5 separate regions of the Homo sapiens genome follow, and all the other regions are linked to region 1. Evidence: promoter capture Hi-C in 16 types of primary human blood cells and fetal thymus (Javierre and others, 2016). All regions are on one chromosome and are shown on one strand. Each heading gives the region's core, a stretch centred on a gene start or on the middle of the fragment in contact. The rest is flanking DNA. Distances are from core to core; before and after follow the strand shown.

Evidence for each region. The method cuts DNA at HindIII sites, captures the fragments that hold promoters and counts their contacts. A CHiCAGO score of 5 or more calls a contact.
Region 2: a contact is called between a fragment that was not itself captured here and the fragment with the promoter of DIS3 in region 1, in 3 of 17 cell types (total CD8 T cells, total B cells and activated CD4 T cells). The highest score is 6.3, in total CD8 T cells.
Region 3: a fragment that was not itself captured here is called in contact with the fragment with the promoter of DIS3 in region 1 in 1 of 17 cell types (endothelial precursors); the score reaches 5.4 in endothelial precursors.
Region 4: a contact is called between a fragment that was not itself captured here and the fragment with the promoter of DIS3 in region 1, in 4 of 17 cell types (fetal thymus, naive CD4 T cells, total CD8 T cells and 1 more). The highest score is 9.3, in fetal thymus.
Region 5: a fragment that was not itself captured here is called in contact with the fragment with the promoter of DIS3 in region 1 in 1 of 17 cell types (total CD4 T cells); the score reaches 5.4 in total CD4 T cells.

The regions. Positions count from the first base shown.
Region 1 is chr13:72,780,526-72,783,225 of GRCh38, reverse strand. DIS3 (DIS3 exosome endoribonuclease and 3''-5'' exoribonuclease) reads left to right here and starts at 1,326. Exons shown (of 21, transcript NM_014953.5): 1 at 1,326-1,621; 2 at 2,223-2,380. The coding sequence starts at 1,394. PIBF1 (progesterone immunomodulatory binding factor 1) reads right to left here and starts at 1,093. Exons shown (of 18, transcript NM_006346.4): 1 at 877-1,093. RefSeq lists enhancers at 1,193-1,302, 1,220-2,134 and a silencer at 1,583-1,632. The HindIII fragment of the contact is 4,441 bases long and covers 1-1,759 here.
Region 2 is chr13:73,763,075-73,765,774 of GRCh38, reverse strand. KLF12 (KLF transcription factor 12) reads left to right here. Exons shown (of 8, transcript NM_001400136.1): 6 at 775-837. Among named protein-coding and RNA genes, the nearest start is that of LINC00393, 100 kb to the right of the region's middle. The HindIII fragment of the contact is 2,540 bases long and covers 143-2,682 here.
Region 3 is chr13:73,681,730-73,684,429 of GRCh38, reverse strand. No RefSeq gene overlaps it. Among named protein-coding and RNA genes, the nearest start is that of LINC00393, 21 kb to the right of the region's middle. The HindIII fragment of the contact is 386 bases long and covers 1,121-1,506 here.
Region 4 is chr13:73,720,811-73,723,510 of GRCh38, reverse strand. The region is part of intron 6 of KLF12 (KLF transcription factor 12); the gene reads left to right. Among named protein-coding and RNA genes, the nearest start is that of LINC00393, 60 kb to the right of the region's middle. The HindIII fragment of the contact is 1,923 bases long and covers 489-2,411 here.
Region 5 is chr13:73,743,269-73,745,968 of GRCh38, reverse strand. The region is part of intron 6 of KLF12 (KLF transcription factor 12); the gene reads left to right. Among named protein-coding and RNA genes, the nearest start is that of LINC00393, 83 kb to the right of the region's middle. The HindIII fragment of the contact is 6,584 bases long and covers 1-2,700 here.

The sequences.
Region 1 (2,700 bases), core at 77-2,576:
AAACTTAAAAAAACAGTTCCTGCGGGGAGGAATCTTACTTGGAGGAAACAAAGAAATGTACAAGATGAAGAAAAAAGCCCATTATAATCAAGAATGGCACCACTAAAACCAACACATGCTCAAAGATAACAGAAATCACGTCTGAGTTGGTCAGGGAAACGTTACACAGAGGTAGCACTTAGAATCTTTAAAGATTTGGACAGGCATGGTAAAAAGGAGAAATCATGCAGTTATTAATGATACGTAAGTGGAAGTAAAAAAACAAAGCCAAGTCTTGGAATAGTTACTCCTTTCACCGCCCCCCCAACACAAACACAAACACACACACACACACACACACACACACACACGCCCTTAACGATCAAGACTGGAAGGCCTTAAATGTCAAAATAGGGTTGGATTTTATTCTACAGGCAATGAGGCATCATTGAAGATGTTTTAAATAGGGAAAACGGGGACAAAAACATTTTTTATAGATAGCAGAATGAAAACAACAGGATATAAGAAAAATTCAAGAAATTCTAAATAGAACTTACTTCTAACTCTCTCATAAGAATGTTAGCAACTACCTTGTTTTAATACCTCATGATATAACAAATTATGCTATTAAATATTTCAGTTTTTCTAAACTGAATGATAAGGAAAGGTGTGTGGAGGGGAAACAGCGAGAACTATACTAAGATCGGCCTCCCTCCTTCTTTTTGAAGGGAAATAGGTAAGAAAAAGTGAATTCAAAGACAAATTCTCTCCTCGATTACAAAGGGCCCGAGACGGGGACTGCCTATACACTCGGCGTGAAAATTAAGCCCCAAACTTGGCAGCTCGGGGGATTCCTTGCCCCACGCGGGAAAGAAAGCGATGATAGTCGCAAGTTACCTCGAAAGTGTCAATTACTCCACACTGAAGCCTTGACCAGCAGCCAGTGCAGACACCGAGGGACCAAAGGCGTCTCCGGTCGGAAGCACAAGGTTGCAGGCCCTCAACAAGGGATTTCAAGGCAGGGGACCGTTAGGACCCGTAACCAAGACAACCATCTCCGCACCCGCAAGGAGGACAGAACCAGCACTCCCACAAGCCGCCGGAAGTCAACTCTCCCGGATGTTCCGAGGAGCGGAAAGCAACACACGTTGTGAGGTGGCGTCCAGAAGGAAGCCCCGCCTAGGCCACGGGCGGAAATGGCTCCTCGCCTTGCTTTGCCGCCCCTCCCCACTCTCGCCCAATCCCCGCGGCCGTCAGAGAGCCAACCAATGTTTATCTCGGCATTTTCCCGCGAGAAGTGTTACTAATATCCGGGAATGGAAAGGGAAGAACCTCCGGGGTTAGGCGTATTCTAGATTGACGCCTTTTGCTGGAAGAGCGCTGCTGGGGTTAGGATTCTGCGCGGCGAGGCAAGATGCTCAAGTCCAAGACGTTCTTAAAAAAGACCCGGGCGGGCGGCGTGATGAAGATCGTGCGCGAGCACTACCTGCGAGACGACATCGGCTGCGGTGCGCCCGGGTGCGCAGCGTGTGGAGGGGCGCACGAGGGGCCGGCCCTGGAGCCGCAGCCCCAGGACCCGGCGAGCAGCGTCTGCCCGCAACCGCACTACTTGCTGCCCGACACTAATGTGTTACTGCACCAGGTGCGTGGGCGGGCGAACCGCGGACAGCGCGGCCCCACGGGGACAAGGGGGTATGACAGGGAAACTGAGGCCCAGGGAGGCGGGTCTTTGGCAGTGTCACATACCTAGCGAAAGGGAAACCCCCTCGGGACCGAAGCTTCCTGTTCCCCAGGCCGAGGTTCTTTTCCTTGTGCTTTAAAAAATTTAGTTCTTGGAGTCGTAGTTCAGACACGTTATTTTTCTAACTCCTGGTGTCTCTTCTGCCTTAGATTGTAAGTGCCTGGAGGCCGGGGACCTGGGCTTCTGTGGCCTCCAGCCTGCGACTCCCAGGCAGCTTGTAAGTGCCTAGGAACAAAAAACTATGTGGGCCAACGTATTCCTTTATTAATACCCTTAATTCTACGAAGTCTTGTGATTGGTCTGTTTAAGTGTGCTTTTTTTAATAGATCTGAAGGGTTTAGTGACTATTGTCTCGTTTTCTATAGCCAAATAGCTTCTTGGCTTAACTTATTCAGTGTTTTTAAAACATAAAGTATTTATGCCCAACATAAAACAGGATTTTATGTTTGACAGAGCTATTTACAAATGAATATAGGAAAAATTAACTTTATCTTTCTTTAAGATTGATGTTCTTGAGGACCCTGCCATCAGGAATGTAATTGTGCTACAAACAGTTCTTCAAGAAGTGAGAAATCGCAGTGCCCCCGTATATAAACGCATCCGAGATGTGACTAATAACCAAGAGAAGCATTTCTATACTTTCACTAATGAGCACCATAGGTAGGAGGAATATTACGTTAAATATCAGAAAACCACAGGATTAGCAAAATTCGGGAGAGGGTTCCTGTGAGTAATTTATGACATTGTCAGAAGATAAGTGATAGATTTCATACCTTATTTAATTCTTACATGGCTGTGCAGAAGATAATGCTAAGTGGATCTCTCTAAGGTCACACAGGCATTGATGGGCTCAAGCCTAAAACCAAGGTCTGCTGACTCCTAGACTACAATAGGTACTTTAATTTCCAAAATGTTTTCATTTTGAATTGGTTTTAGCATGAGTTGGACCATAGAATCTTGGAAGATGAGATTTGCTTAAG
Region 2 (2,700 bases), core at 163-2,662, 980 kb before region 1:
AGCCGGAAGTAGGGCGTATTGTTTTGCCGGTTAGTGACCCACAAAGAGGCGGAGGTTTACTAGCTAGGCTTTGATTAGAAGATAACAGCAGTTCCCGGAAGCTTTAAGCTGTTTCCAGTGGATAAGTCCAATCCTGGAAGCTTGGAAAGCAATATATTCTTCACTTCTCCTTTATCTGGCTAAAATTTTGAATTGACTTTACTTTCTTCAAAGTCCAGTGTAGCACATCACTTCCAGAATGTACTCCTCCTAGGAGTACCTGTTCACCCTTCCTTCCTTCCCTGTGCCTGCAGATTCTGTCACAGCACATTTGAATAACGTTGTTTGCTTCCTAGAGTTTTAAATGTGGTAGAGTGAAGGAGAGGGCACTTAGACACCTCTTTGTGCCCACCCTCATGGGAACAGGTACAAAGAGGGCTCACTGAACTCAGGCACCATACCTTAGATAACTTTTACCCACCCTTGTACCTGGCAAGGGTTAGGTATTCAGTCACTTTTGTTGGACTGAATGAATGCATCAGTCCTGCCTCTGGGAGTCTTCAGAGTGAACATTATGACAGACCTGTTGTCTTGAGAGTGGTTAAGAAGGAAAAAAGGACCACAGATTTGCAGGCGTAGGAATTTAATTGCATCATTTACTAAGAGGGGTTCAAGTTCTGGGGATTTTGTATTAAGCAATTCTAAAAGAAATTATTTATAAAACATGCCATTTTTTTAAATTTGCAATTGGGAATATGCTTTTTCAATGACTGGATTATTCTTCTCTGTCTACAGGGTACATCCGTCCCCAGTATCAAGGGTCCGGGGCAATCGAATGAATAATCAAAAGTTTCCTTGGTGAGTATACAGTCTAATATGAGTATTTGTAGGTCTTACGGGAAACTTTAATAGGGCTTATGTTAAAATTAAGAGAATTAGTCCTACTTCTCTATACAGAGTACATACCTGCTAACTGGACTATGCGGTCTTCCTTTCCTCTGGACAGTTCGAAATAAATATTGATAGAGTTCCTTTCCAGCCCAAACTCTTCATTCACCAAAAACCCTGAGTGTAACTTTTTTTTTTGACAGATATGATCTAAGTTCCCAAGATTATAAACTCTTACCTATTTTAAAGAATGTTTTCCTTTTTTTCGAAGGTACATAGACCCAGATATTTCTCAGATACCAACTTCAACTCCTCATGAAGATTTCCACAGTTAATGAATCTGTTACATTAGTTTTGGGGATTACAACGAACTCAGTGATTTTTTTTTTCCTTGCCATAGCCTTAAATATCCAGGATTTTTTTTTTTTTTAATTTGGGGAGTACTAAGATCTTCTTTAACTGATGAGTTCTTGAACAAAAATATAGATGGAATTTTGCAGAAACAACCTGAAAAGTTATTTCAACCAGAAAACATAGCTTATCGATTCTTTAGAGAAGCGATTTAAAGTGTTTCACAAATATTTCATGCGAAACAACAAAAAAAGTGGGCTCAATATCTGTATTTGTTTATATTACTCCATTCCACAAAGTTAACCTTTTAACACATAATGTGTTATTAAGGAAAAAAAAGAAAAACTAAAAAGAAAAAAATGAACTGTGGCTGTATTACTTCAAAGATGAATGGAAATTCCATTTTTACTTCATTGAATTATAGTTAGAATGAGATTTTGATTAAAACTATGCCTTTTTTTAAGTATGGGAAGATGATCACCAAAGATTGAGCTTCCAAATTAATTTTATTCCTAAATCAAGATTATTTTTAGACACAAAATAATGACACTTTGAATTTGAATCATGCCTAATCATCTCACCTCCCTTCCCCCACGAAATCTAATTAATTCTCACAATAGCTTGGCGATGTTGTTAAATATTGTGCTTTTCTTTTTCACAGAGGGGGAAATGGGGCACAGAGGCGTTTGCTTACACCTTGCCTCAGAGCCGGGGCATCCTTCCTCGTCTCTTACCATTGCTAAAGCATGTTATCCCCTGTCCGGCCTGAAAAGCTAAGGGAGTAATAATATGATGATCATTATGTGAAAGGAAAGGGACAAATCAGGTCTGTTCTTGACTTATCACACGCCACAAGCTAATGGGTAGAGTACAGAGTTGTCAGGTATGAGATCCAGTTTCCATAACTTGGTTCTCAATGGCTAAATGTAAAACATGGAGTAAATAACAGAGTTTCTTTTCTTGACTTTTCCTCTCTGAAGTATTGAAGTAATGATGTTCCTGCATAATTCATAGCATGTTATTTGTTTAGTAAGTGTAAACCTCTTGTATCTCCAGAGAAGTAATCCATGGAAAACAAAAGTGATGTTTACTACTGGCCTTGAGAAAATTCAACTTTTATTTATTCAGCAACATTTATTTACAGTCCCAGGCACTGTAAGAAGCACTAGATTAGAAAGATAAATAAAACATGGTTTCTATCCTCAAGGGCCTACCTGTCTTGCAGGGCAGATGTGTATGTGTATGTGTGTGTGATGTCACATACACAGGCACATATACGATATCACACAAGCACATAATATACAATGTGGGTAAAGCTCTAAGGAGATATATTTATAATATAATGTTTAGAAGGAGAAGTTAGCAGCTTTATTTAAGACTAATTTGAGAGTTCATACTTGGGAGGGGGTGGAATATAAAGGAAGGAACAAGGCTGTCAGAAAATCCATCCCAAAGAAGAAAGCTTTTGAGCAAAGACCTAGA
Region 3 (2,700 bases), core at 64-2,563, 900 kb before region 1:
TAGACCAATGAGGCAGATTTCATGGACTAGATCACATGATGTTATTTTTCCCTCAGGGTAATTTATTCGTTGATATTTCCTCTACCAGGGTGATTCTTGGATACTTCAATGATAGCTGGAATTACACAGGTGATAGATAATTCATTATCTCATGTTTTACCTTTACTCTAGCCGTTTTGCCATAGCCATGATTTCTAACCTAATGGTTTCATTGTTTCTTATTCTCCCCAATTTGAAGTCTACAAAAAAACCACACGAAATAGTTAAAAGTACAGGAGCAGCAATGTACTTCAGCTTAGAATGCCTTGGGGCTTTATCAGAAAAGAAAAAAATATTTCAGTGCTAGAACAAAATCATGCTCCCTAAAAAATTATTTTAGTCCCAATGGCCATGGAGGGTTTTCATACTATATAGTGCATTGTCTTCCCACCAAAGTGCGTGGTTTCCTTCAACACAATGAGCTCCTTGTGCTTTGTTCGTGTGCTGTCTGGATTTAATATATTTCTCTCCCAGCAGTGTAATAACTATAATTTACATCACTTCCTGTTTAGTCTAAATTCACCAATGAACGCCTACACAGCTCATACACTTGAGTGATTGTCTATTTCTGAAATAAATTACATTTTCCTTGTACAGGAACAACTTTTACATGATCTTTTTTCTTTTATAGTTTCACCATGTTAAGAGTGTGCTTGTGTGTGTGTATGTGTATGAGAGAGAAACCCAGTTTTATGAGGCCATGATGACATCAGCAATATGTGCTAAAAAACATTTACTCAGGAGAGCCCCAGAATTGTTTAAATAGGCATATAGTCATCAGAATAGCCCCCTTTTCTCTTATTGTAGCTGCAGTAAGTATTGTATTGCACAGATTGTAATCCATTATCTTGAAGAGGATTGCAAAGCACAGAAGGTCTGTGTCATGAGCTACTGTTATACCCTGGTCCCTCAGAGCTTTCAGTCTATACCAAAGACCCAAGTTGGTTCCAACATCTCAAGGGTGGCCTTGCCGCTGCCTCTGGCTGCTATGCCCTCTTAAACTTGGCCATGGCCAGGTCATGAGGTAGACGTGGCCCTGGAGGGTTAAACGTTATTGATCATCCCCAGGGTCCTGAAAGCTTATGTCAGTGTGGCCAATGCATTCTGTTGCTGAATTAGGGCCTGTGTACACTACTTCACCTTTCCTGGCTGATTTGGAGCCATTTCTTTGTAATTTGTTCAGCATAAATGAATACAGTCATTTGAGCACTGATATTGACCCTTTTGTATTATATGTATCAATATTATGCATTATCCAAGTGAGCATTCAAATTATATTTGATATATCTAAAACATGGAGGAAATGGTTAAGAAATTACATAAAGTCTATATTCTATTCAACCACTCGTAAATCTATGTTCTTATGGTTACTGATAGCAATTTTTATGTGCATAAAATAAGGAAAAGCACATGTTTGACTTATTACTCTGTAAAAAGATTATGCTAATTGATGTGTGGCATAAAGCTTTGTACTTAAGACATAGTCCCTCACCTAAAGTAAGTTATTGTATCCGATTAGCGTAGATAGATACATACACAATTTCTCTAGTATGAACTGTAAATGGATAAGCACCACCAGAACTGGCTAAAACGTGATGGAATTTTAAGGGTAGAGAGAATAGCTCAGTAACACAGGTAATCAGTCAGCCCCTGTGTCCCCTGAAATACACATTGTATGTAGATATTCAGATCCCTAATAACATGCCCTCTGGAAGATTTCTGTGAATTTTGAGTGTGTGTGCAACACTGGAGAAAGAGAGGCAGAGGTGTCTGCCTGATCACAATCACCTCATTCTCTTGGTTTATGGATCATTTCAAGTTGTGACGTGTGCTATCTCTGTTGTCCATCCTGTCAGCCTCTTCTTTGATTTGCACATGTGCCAACACACATGTAAGTTGTATATTCAGTTTGCAAACTGCAGTTTTGTGACCCATTCATGGCAATGAAATCCATGTAGTGGATGAAAGTGAGCATTTTCAAAAATTAAAGAAAGGAATGAGATGGTATAAGATGGGATGAAATAGAATGGAATGAAGCAGGAAGGAAGCGAAGATGAAGAAGAGCTTTTGTTTCAGTTCATTGTCCGTTAGCATGCATGTGACAGGGCGCAATGTAAAAAATAAACTTTGAAAGCCTCCGGTGGGGTGGTCTCTCTCCTCTCCTCCTGCCCACCTGCTCCCAAGGCAAGTCCAGGTGTGCTCCATCTCACATTGAGCAGAACCTCTATTGAAATGGTTAATTGTATGTGTCATATTGACTGGGCCACAGTGCCAAGATATTTGGTTGGACATTATTCTGGATGTTTCTGTAAAGGTGTTTTTTGAATGAGATTAACATTTAAATAGGTGAACTTTGAATAAAGCAGATGACCCCCCATAATGTGGGTGGGCCTCATCCAATCAGGTGAAGGCCTTATCAGAACAAAGACTGACCTCCCTTGGGCAACAAGGAATTCTGTCAGCAGACTGCCCTTGGACTTGAACTTGCAACTCTTCCCTGAGTCTCCAGCCTGTCAGCCTACCCCATCCGATTTTGGACTTGACAAGCTTCCACAGCCACATGGAGCCAATAATCTCTCGGTATGTAAGTGTAAACATATACTCTGTTGGTTTAATTTCTCTGGAGAACCCTGGCTAATATCTCCATCTGTCCATGGTTAC
Region 4 (2,700 bases), core at 201-2,700, 940 kb before region 1:
TTTTTTTTTTAAGGTTTATGTAATCCACCAAGCTATCACTTCTGGCATAAAACATAATTTAAACCCCGGTATTTTCTGAAGAAATTCTGTGGGAAAATCCCTCTAAATATTTAAGTATGTTATGTGTCTTCCATTCAGTGGGTATGTCTAGTATAATCCAGAAATCCATACCTGTTTCAGAACCCTCGTTTCATCCTACATTATTAATTGATCTCATGGGATAAAGTCTTCGCAATGCATAGGACATTCCCCACAGAGTAGCTATTTTGAATAGATACTCTATATCTGAAATAGGCATTTTTTTGTTAGCCAACAATCCTCTTTCAACTTGTAGTCTAATTTCATCATAAAAGTTTGATAATATAGCCAACCAGAACAGACTGTTAATGATTCGTTTTTTTCTATTTTGATTCTCTTTAAACATTTTGCCTAATACAGCTTATGATCTTGCTTGCTGAAATATGTTGAAACAAAAAGAACAGAAAGCTTGTCATACTTTTAAGTTTTTTAACGGTCTAGAAAGTGATGTGGAAAAATACTTAGTGGCTGCTGTTATATTTAAGTAAAATCATGAAATACTGTGAATCCATCCCCAGGGCACCCCTTGGGCGCCCAAAAGGCTCATTTGTAAACCATTATCTTTTAATTAGTTTAGTAGGAAACTTTGTTTATTAAAGTAAAACAATAATTAAATATGCATTTTAGACGCATTCTGTTCATATGGAAAACTTGCCAAACGCTAGTTTGAATAGATGTTAAGATTGAGCTTTTTGACGCATTTTAGCAAACGTATTTCTCTTGATTTATACATTTTGTGAAAACGTTTTTATTGAATCCAAATTAGAACATGATATAATGTCTCAGTCACAGCTTCTGAAAAGGGTGGCAACTACTAATCTTACAATTTCAATCTGTTCAAAAGTAGTTTTCTGTGAAATGCTACAGACAGGAGTGAGAGAGGAACTTGATGCCTGTGAATCTGCTCCACCTCCGAATGTAGCTGCTGGGGATTTGGTAGTAAATGTATCTAAACACTGCTTTTTCCCTAATTAATATCATAGGAGAGACATTGACATGGTTTGACAGGCACTAGAGTCTGTTGTAGTATGGAAGATAAATATGAAGATTCCTGCCTCTGAGAGCCATCTGCTGGTTAAGGGAAAGCCTACAAAGAAATGCAGATATCTGGCTTGTTCATGTGAATAGAATCTGTCTTACTGAGATTTATGTAAATCCTGATTAACTGAAAGTCTCATCCACTCTTGCTCTGCTTGTGGTCTTGATGATTCATTCCCAGGGTGGTGTTTGATTCACTAACAAAGAAGTCATTCTACCTACAGGTATTCTGTGGCAGAAGTTAATTCAGAATTCTGTAGGTGATGTTCAATGTCTTATTTTAAATAATATGAAACCTTAGAAACAGTACAAAATATACTTTGTAAACTGAATGCTCCCACTTCCCTTAAGGTAATTCTATCGTGCAACCAACTCAATTCTTTTTGGTACAATTGTAAATAAAGTGGAATGTCAGGGAAGGGACTAATTTTGTGGCATTAATGGTCAAGGAAGACATTAGCATATACCACTGCCAAACTCAGCCTTTAAAAAACATTTCCCTTGGAAATACATAGTTTATAACAACTTTAAGAAAATATGTACTGGGTAGGCATAGTGTCTCATACCTATAATCCCAACACTGGGACGCCGAAGTGGGAGGATCACTTGAGGCCAGGAGTTCAAGACAGGCTAGGACAACACAGCAAGACCCTTTCTCTACCAAAAAAAAAAAAAATTAACTAGGCATGGTGGCATGCACCTGTAGTCCTAGTTCCCAGGAGGCTGAGGCGGAAGGATTGTTTGAGTCCAGGAGTTTGAGGCTCCGGTGAGCTATGATTCTACCACTGCACTGCAGCTTGGGCAACAGAATGAGTTCTTGTCTCTTTTTAAAAACAAGATGAAAGGAGAGAAAAGAAAATACTTTCTTTGGTAGATTAATAGTAAGTGTACTGAATGCCCATCTGACAGTACTTACAGAACGGTTTACCTTTTTAAAATTCTCCAGAGAAAAGTATATGTCTTATCGTTGCAGGCTATATTCAATAACACTTATGTGTGCTGTTGTTTTATATAATTGGGTTAAAGGGGAAATTTAAATGCTATAGATATTTTGTTGCTTTTTCCCCTTCTATCATATGTTGGTTTGTAATACCTGTATCTTCATCTGAATAAGCATAACATTGTAATTAAAATTGAGTTCTGGAATCAACCACTCAGGTCTGAGTTTTAGTGTAGCCGCAGACTTTGTCTTGGCCTTGGCCTTAACCTCTCTGTGCCTCAGTTTCCTCATCTGTAAAAGAGGGATACAGTGTACAGGGATAGTAGTGTCAATCTCAGAGGGTTGCTCTGAAGCTTAAGGCATTTAGGTCGGTGCCTGACACCCACTAAGCATTCTGTAAATATCATTGTTATCCTCAGCTGTGGCCCTTGGAATTCTGTTGTGATTGCGTGTGTGAATTTACTAAAGCTCCTTCAATTCCAGTGTTTTCTGCTCTGGTTTTTAAATCTGGGATGTGTATGTCTTCTTTCCAGGCTTGAAAGATTGTCCTGGCCTTTTTAATTTTTTTTTAACTCCTGTAAAAACTCCAGTTTCAGTGAAGGACATCTCATCATGCTAAGGTCACACATGACGAGTGGTCTTTT
Region 5 (2,700 bases), core at 54-2,553, 960 kb before region 1:
GCATCTGACAGCGTTTTGCCCGATGCAGATGGTGTGTACTACGTATTTTGCAGGACATTACGATCCTTGAAATGTAAAAATGATACGTCATTTAACTTTTTCCACAGTTACTGATTCAGTTATTTAGTGGTATACCCTTGACTTGCATGCTTTCAAACTGGTGGGTATCTTGAAAATATCATTAAGTGAAATTAGAATCTTGGTGCTATTTTTGCTTGGTGTTATCTGAAATAATGCATAGCTTTTGCAAATTTGTGATTATTAATAGATTTGGAGGCCTCTGATTCTAGAAATTACATACGTGCAGAACAATGACAAGTGTTAACAAAGGAGCATTTTCTTTTTCTTTTTACACTTAGTATTTTGACCTGGTGTGTGAAAAACAGTAATTATCACATGTGATACTTTTACAAAATATAAATTCAGTCCTTGTCACAATCTGGGTTGACATTTGTTAGATATATTTTAAGGATAATAATTACCTTTAATATTTATAAATATGTATGGTTACAATTGTACTGGTTAGAGCATGCCCTTCAGTCCTCATCCTAGGTGACCTAAATGTCAAATGATTTAATACACTGGAGGAGGAAAACCAGAGCCTACTTCTGAGCTACTGACACAACTCCATTCATAGTGAGCTCTTTCACAACGTCATGATTTTAGTTGCAATTGGATAAGAGTAGCGTCCCCTCTTTCCTACCTAAAACATATGCTTTAAATGTATGTGCATTTGTAATATGTGTTCTCTTATGTCCCCAGGTGGTCAAAGAGCACATGTGCAAAACAGAACCCCATCCTGCAGTTATGTGTGGTAATGAACCACGGCTTAAACAATGAATACGGATGCATTAACCACAAATTCTTATAAACAATAAATGAATAAATAAGTTATTTTAATGGGTACCTAGCAGCTATAATTTTAGGTACTCATAAAAGTGACTGATTACATTAGCAGGCCTTGGTCTAAAGAGTGCAGCTGGCTAACACTAGAAGGCTCTGTAGAACTAGAAAGTGCAACCATGGCCTCAGAATTTAACACCAGGATGCATGAATGTTGAGTTCTTTTCTGACACACTAGCCTTCATCAAAGGTAAACTCAACTAGCCACCATCAGAAATTAATGAACCCTAATAATGTAGAGACATGCGTATGCTCACCTATGCGTAGACATGCATACGTCACCTTGCAGTTTTATTTTTTCATGTCCTGATGCAGGTTTGGCAAGTGCTGAGCATCGTTTTGTCATGCTCATCCTAGGCAGCAGGCTTTCCTTCCCTGCGTTGCTCCTCAGTGTCTACCTACCTGCTCCTGAAGCCCTGGGGCTCTATAGCAGTTCCTCCTGTGTTGCTTTTTCTGGCTTCATTTGCTGTTGCTGCCACCCCCCACAACCCCCCATTACTAGACCACCCCCTGGGTAGCTGACCCAGGCTCCAGGATGTCCATCACACAGGCCCCAGTCACCTGCTTTTTGCTCCTACCACCAGCGTGCCTAAAGGGTTTATAAAGGCCTATCTTGAAAAGACCCCTCCTGCAGGAGACCTACACTCACCCTTTCAAAACGCCCTTTCATCCATGCCCTCATGAGAAATTCACAACCAACCCTTGCGACATTCACAATAGGTAGTATTGACCCCATTTTGTCAGTGATGAAATTGAAGTTCCAAAATAGAAATTCAGTTATTTGTCCTATGGAACAAAGCCACTTTGCAACAGCCCTGGCACATCTAGATCTTCACATTCCAAATTTAGCAGTGAATCTCCTAATCCAATCCATGCTACCCAAAGTCAGACTTGAATTCTTATTTGTAGATGGAGAATTTGAAAGCAGACTTAACAGCGGTATTTAACTTTAGTTCAAAGATGCCATAGGTCTTGGCATTTGGGTCTGTTTGAGGTATGGAAAAATATTTGTAGATGTAGAACTTTTCTTACATAAGAAGAGTTTCCAAATAAATAGGAGAGGTCACTAAAGTTCTTGCAAGTACTTCTCAAAACTTTTTTAAAGGTATACATTAGTTTCTTCTACCTGGACTGCTTGAAATAGAATCCTGCCTCAAGGAATTAGTAAATGATAAGAGCCCTCCATGTACTTCTTAGTCATTTTATTTTTCTCTCTTTCCTGGAAGCGTAACTTTCTTAGAAACCACAACTTTGGTTCTTCTCACTGATGAGCAGAACTTTTAAAAATAAGGTGATTATTCTGAAATAGTTCTGAAGCATGCTGATACCAAAGCGGAGTTAAAATCTACTTCTTGGATCAGCTTTTTCCAACTCTACATAAATACACATAAACCCACACATATAATGTAATATGCATGCTATATCTTTTCAGAGGTTTTCTAGGAGCCATTTTGAAAGAAGTTTCCTTGTAACTTTAATGAATGGGAGAACGTTTTTTTCTAGTACTCCCCCAACCCTGCCTTAATTTCTAGTACATTCAACTTGTTATGTAATTGTATAGTAAGTCTTAAGGCAAAGCCATATTCTACGGTGCTTTCAGGATCTCAGATCAATAGTTATTTTATATAAGATAGCACTGATCAGACAGCAGAATTTTAGACTCTCTATACAAGAAGAGTTGATCCTGAGAGAAGTAATGTTAAACCCCTCTGTCAATATTCTGTAAAAGTGAGTAATAACACCACCACCTAGCACATGTAATGATTATGTTATTCATAGATGAATATGCCTAACTCC